2 separate regions of the Homo sapiens genome follow, and region 2 is linked to region 1. Evidence: promoter capture Hi-C in human tissues and cell types (Jung and others, 2019). All regions are on one chromosome and are shown on one strand. Each heading gives the region's core, a stretch centred on a gene start or on the middle of the fragment in contact. The rest is flanking DNA. Distances are from core to core; before and after follow the strand shown.

Region 1 (2,792 bases), core at 215-2,714:
AGGAGCTTGCCGGCCGCGCCTGTGAGTCGCCCACTCTTAGGATCTTCGAGGCGGCTCTGCGCCGGGCTTTCAGGAGCTGTCCCGATCCGGAGGGGTCGCGTGTCTTTCTCGGCTCTTTGGGGAGCCTCTGCATCCCTCCACCTTTCGTCTGACCTAGCGGCCCGCGCCCGCCACCCGGGAGTCTGCTTCTCTTCCTTCCTTTTCTCTCCAACTTTTCCTCTTAGCAATCTCCATGGCCCGCTTCGCCCGCCTCGACTTCCCTCCTTTTCTAAATCCGCTTCGCCTTTCCGAAGTTTTTATTTCCAACCTCGACGTCTCAGCAGAACCTTCCCTTCCTCCCTTCCCCTGGCAACCACCTGGGGCTGTCCCAGACCATTCCGCTTAAAAGCGAGGCTCCGCGGGCTTCCCGGTCCCCAGCCTGGCCCGCCGCGCGCCCCGCGCCTCGCCCGCCTCGGCCGCCTCTCCCACCTCGCCCGCCTCTCCCACCTCGCCCGCCTCGGCCGCCTCGTCCGCCTAGTCCGCCTCGCCCGCGAGTAGCGGAGCCGTCTGGCCGCGTCAGCCCTCGCCCGAGCCGGAAAAGGGCTTTGGCGAGCGCGGTCCGGGCCCCGGAGGCGGCTGGCGTCCTCCTGGCTGGGCGCAACTTCTCCTGCCCCGAAGAGTTGAGCTAGCCTCAGTGCTAGAGACCCGTACGCATTGAACGTGGGCAGAAATTTCCGTGAAAGATGCCCACACAGGAGGCGGCTGCGATTTCTGTTCGGACGCAGTGACCCTCAAGGAAGCAAAACACAAGAAAACAGAAACTAATAAACTGCTACGACTTCTATTTTGCTCTATCCATCCATATCTCCAGCCATCTACTTCTTTCCCGCTAATTCTCTGTCCTCTACTTGGAACCATTTGTTATCAATTTCAGAAATTTTATTGAAAATAAAAATTAAAAGCCCGAGTCTGTTACAAATGAGGCTTGAAAACCCAATTCTCTTCCACACTTAAAACGAGAAAAGCCCCTGACTTTATCAGAATCTCGATTTTCTCTGAGAGCGTGCCCACATTCAGTAGCACCACATTCCCCATCAGAGCTTAAAAGGGTGGGGTGGGGTGGGGGGAGGCGAGGAAAAGGGAAAGAAAAATAAAATAAATAAAAACATTCCTAAATTAAAGTTGTCAGATTTCAGCCTTAAAGTCCCTTTTCAGAGCAGCGAAGTCTTCCCTAGCCAGCTTTTCTAAAAGTTAAAAAAAGCTGAGAAAACCGACCGGAAATCTACGAGTAAATAGCTTAAAAATATATATCATTTGGGGTATCAAGAAGCTCAAATTCTCTATCTGCAAAGCTCTAAGGTGCATCTGGGGGTGTCGACTCACCTCATAGATATCTTCGTACTTGACATTCTCCACAAGCTTCCAGAGCATGATGGCAGCCTGGTCTCTAGGAGGTGAGTGCATTCATGTGAGGAGCAGATGTCTGGCTTCTCAGGACTCCGCTGTCTGTAATGATCCATCTATAATTGGAAATGGGGGATACACACCAAATCCGACGCTCCTCTCCCATCGCAACTTATATCTGTTGTCTCAAACAATAGGCTGGACAAGTAAGCCTCAGCAAAGAGAAAAAACATTATTGCACACACAGGAGTTAGATGCAACCCACAGACATATATACTATAAAAATCATAAACCCGTATTTACACCCAGACACCCACATATAGTTATATAAGCACCTCTGGGTCACACAGTCTGCAGACTCCAAATGTGCATTTAACAAAGAGTTGTTCAGGGTGATTAATATAATATATACATTTTATAACTTCTATATCGAAAATGACACATCATTGTAGCCACTAACTGAAGTCTTTGCAATTCATAATGAGAAACCAGGGGCCATCAGTCCCCTATTTTCTATGTAGATTTTAAAGGGGGACACTTACCAAGATTTTTAAACACAAAAGCTCCCTCCTATTCATGTATGTTCCGGAAGAGAGTATTTTGAAAGGCTGGATATGGGGGATTTTAAGGACTATCTCTGTGTTGATGGCTACACAACTTTTTTTTTTTTAACTTTATCTCTGTCACCATAGAACAAAAAAGCTAGCCACCGTTGATGACCATTTCTAATATTTTCTGGTCATTTTACCTAAAACCTTTGGAAACTTAAATACACCTCAGTTTGTGCTGCTTGTTATTTTAGGTGTTGTTTGTATGCATTTTCAACGGATTCCATGCACCATTCCTCTTGGCTGGAGTCTCCATTTTATCAAGTTTTTTTCAGATGTTGGAAGCAACGTACGCACACGTTCAGACAAGGTTAATTTTGAGCCTTTTTTGCAGAGGCCAAGGACATTTTATATTTGCATCTGTTGTGTATGACTTGTAAGTGGTTTTAATCATGGAGAGTCAAGAAAGGGCCACCCGAATCTTTGAAAAGGTTTAAGCAGAATGTCTTCAAAGAGATAGTGAAAAATATTTTAGTGCATGTGGAGTTTCTTCTTTTTTTTGTATAATTTTTCTTAATAAGATGATTCATATAGTTTTTAAAAAGGAAAACATCATCAGCAACAAGAACAATATTAACCAGACTTAGAAAATGGGCACCATTTAAGGCGCAGGGATTCTGAATTTTATCATGAAATGAATACTCATCTGTTCCCCTGTTCCCCCTTTCCCATCCCCTCTGTTTTTCTACTCCCTTTCAGGGTGCGGAGAGCTTCTCATAGCCGGAACAGACGCCCAGAAGAGGATCTCTGCGCCTGGGACAGAAAAGAAATGCCAGGAGGGACCGAGGAGGGATGGGGCAA
Region 2 (2,792 bases), core at 187-2,686, 290 kb before region 1:
CATCTCTTGATGGGACATTTCCCTGAAGAGAAATTACCCATTATTGTACAATCCTACCATGTACTAGTAAAGGGCAGCAAAAAAAAAAAAAAAAAAAGCATTAGGCTTTGAGTGAGGGGCCCAGGTTTGTGACCTTAAGCAAGTCACCATTATCTGAGCCCTCCTCTCCCCATTTGTAAAATGGAAAAGAACATGGCAAAAACAAAACAAGACCAAGTAAGATAATGCACTGGAAATCATTTTGAAAATGTAAAGCAATATGTAATTAAAGCAATATCATGATGCTGTAACTCCTATGATATTTTATTTATGCTGTGTCAACACAGGAATATTCAATAAGAGCAGTCACAAAAATCAGCCAATTTCATCTGTTAAGATAGTAAAGAGATTTGCACATCATTATATAGAGCTTTTCTCACCAATGTTTGGTATAAAGATATTAACAGTTGTCTGTGTCCTTCCCAAGCCCAGGTACCTTTTTCCCAAGAAATCAGATGTTAGGGAAAGAGGCAAGACTACCTGTCCTTTGCAGAGTAAAATTACATGAGAACTAGAGTGACCAACTATTGATTTTGCCTGTCAATCCAAAAATCAGGAAAGTCCCAAGCAACTTGGAAGACAAGTTAGTGACTCCAAGAGCCATGATGTAGACAGTGGACAGAGCACTGGACTGAGAATCAGGTGTCCAACATTCTCCTCCTAGCTGGGGTACCTGCTGATGTAGTGACCTTGAGCAAGTCACTTAACCTCTGTTCCTTAGATCCTTCATTTGCAAAATTGGGAGGTTGGACCTGATATCTAGCTAAATGGCGCAAGTATTATTAAGCATGTACTGTATTTTCAGATCTATGTGAAATGTCCCATTGACATTTCTTCATTGAATCTTCCCAACAACACTATGATGCAAATACTATTATTATTTCCTACTAACAGATGAAGACACAGAGGACCAAAAGAGGCCAAGATTTAAGTCACACCATGTGAGGCACTGCATCCCAGCTGTGAGGAACATAGCCTCTTAGGCCAGAGCTCAATTCCCAGCCCCACCACGTGCTAGCTGTGTTACCTTGGTCAAGTCCCTTAATCCATGTGCCTCAGTAATATGGGGGCTTCTTTTATGGTTGTTTAGGAGTGCTTCAAACAATGCCTGGCACAAGACAAAGTCTATGCAAGAGTTTGTTAAATAAATCAAATACGGGTGTATATCCTCTAAAATACTATACACACTGCTGCCCCTTTCAAAGGTCTCTTCCTGGTCCTAATAGACTATGATTTTATGGATTTTATTTGCCTCTTCTGTACAATATAGGAAAACAGAGACTGCTAAATGCAGAGCATTTTTGCAATAATGAAGGGCTAAATGACTTTCTTCATTCCTAAACCACATTCTCAAAGAAAACACTGCTGATTCTCATAGAGTGTCTGTGTGATTGAGAATCTGTGAATTCACTCCTGGGCATCTTTAAAAAGAAAAGAAATCAGCACAACATTTGTGTAATGCCTTAACATTAAATCTGCGGGCCTTTGCCAGTTTGTAAGTCATTTGGAACCTTTAACATCACTTATGCTCAGAGTTTCTTTGTTGTAATTATCTAAAGAGAACAGAGAAGTTTTAAGCTCTTTAAGCAACAGGGAAAAGTCACCATGTTTCATCTTTCAATGAATTATTTGGAGGTATTATTTTTCATTGTGTTTCTGACAATTGTTTAAATATCATGTCCAAGATAAAGGGTTTGATTCTTATTTCTGTTATTCTAGCAGAAATCCCCAGATATCTTGTGAAATTAGCTGCTGTGGTAGTACACTTGTATTTGCTAGTTATTGTGTATTATATACCAATATGTCACAATTCATTCAATACATTTTTACTGGTTATGTACCATGTGCTAGGCACATTTATTTAATATTAATAATTTTCTTTGGCACACACATAGCAGTTTCCAGGACATGCATACTAAGTCTCCTAACTTGCCACTTAGGGAAAAAGCAGAAAGTCATATAAGCCCAATTTTATAGCAAACAATTTACACAGAGCTCCAGGAAGCTAACACTAGTATTCATTTAAAAAAAAAAAAAAAATGTCAGCTGGGCGTGGTGGCTCACGCCTGTAATCCCAGCACTTTGGGAGGCCAAAGTGGGCAGATCACGAGGTCAGGAGATCAAGACAATCCTGGCTAACACAGTGAAACCTCATCTCTACCAAAAATACAAAAAAAAATTAGCCTGGTGTGGTGGCAGGCGCCTGTATTTCCAGCTACTCAGGAGGCTGAGACAGAATGGCATGAACCTGGGAGGCAGAGCTTTCAGTGAGCCAAGATCGTGCCACTGCACTCCAGCCTGGGAGACAGAGCAAGACTCTGTCTCCAAAAAAAAAAAAAAAAAAAAGTCTAGTTGGCTAAGTCCAGTCCATTGGTATGATCATCTTATAAGGCTTCTTGCCAACCATAGAAGTGAACACGAGGCTGGTTTTCTCATTCTGCTTTGGAGAAGTTTCTGCTTCAGTCTTTAATTGGCAAACCAACCTGAATTGTTGTGGTTTACCCAGTTCTGTGTGCACTTTTAAAGACTTGCTCTTGGAAGATTTTCTTCCTCCGGGTGGCTGGGCCATACCTTTCCCTTGCTAGTAGGAAGAACAGCCGCAAGTCCCCATAATTCCTCCAGCCCCTTTGCCCAGCCTAGTTTCAGCGATAGTAGCTGACAATGTAATACTCATTCAGCAGCTGATTATAATTAAAAATATCAGAATAATTAAAGTCCTCAGCTTGACAAGCAGAGCCATAACTTTGCCTTCA

What was found. The method cuts DNA at HindIII sites, captures the fragments that hold promoters and counts their contacts. A contact is called where the count stands out against the background at its distance.
Region 2: a contact is called between a fragment that was not itself captured here and the fragment with the promoter of TFAP2B in region 1, in 2 of the 25 tissues and cell types used here (small bowel and spleen).

The regions. Positions count from the first base shown.
Region 1 is chr6:50,817,543-50,820,334 of GRCh38, reverse strand. It overlaps TFAP2B (transcription factor AP-2 beta), which reads right to left and starts at 1,464. Exons shown (of 7, transcript NM_003221.4): 1 at 1,363-1,464. The coding sequence starts at 1,443. It overlaps LOC124901490 (a long non-coding RNA gene), which reads left to right and starts at 1,309. Exons shown (of 2, transcript XR_007059923.1): 1 at 1,309-1,433; 2 at 2,691-2,792. The HindIII fragment of the contact is 7,987 bases long and covers 1-2,792 here.
Region 2 is chr6:51,109,216-51,112,007 of GRCh38, reverse strand. No RefSeq gene overlaps it. Among named protein-coding and RNA genes, the nearest start is that of TFAP2B, 290 kb to the right of the region's middle. The HindIII fragment of the contact is 5,060 bases long and covers 1-2,792 here.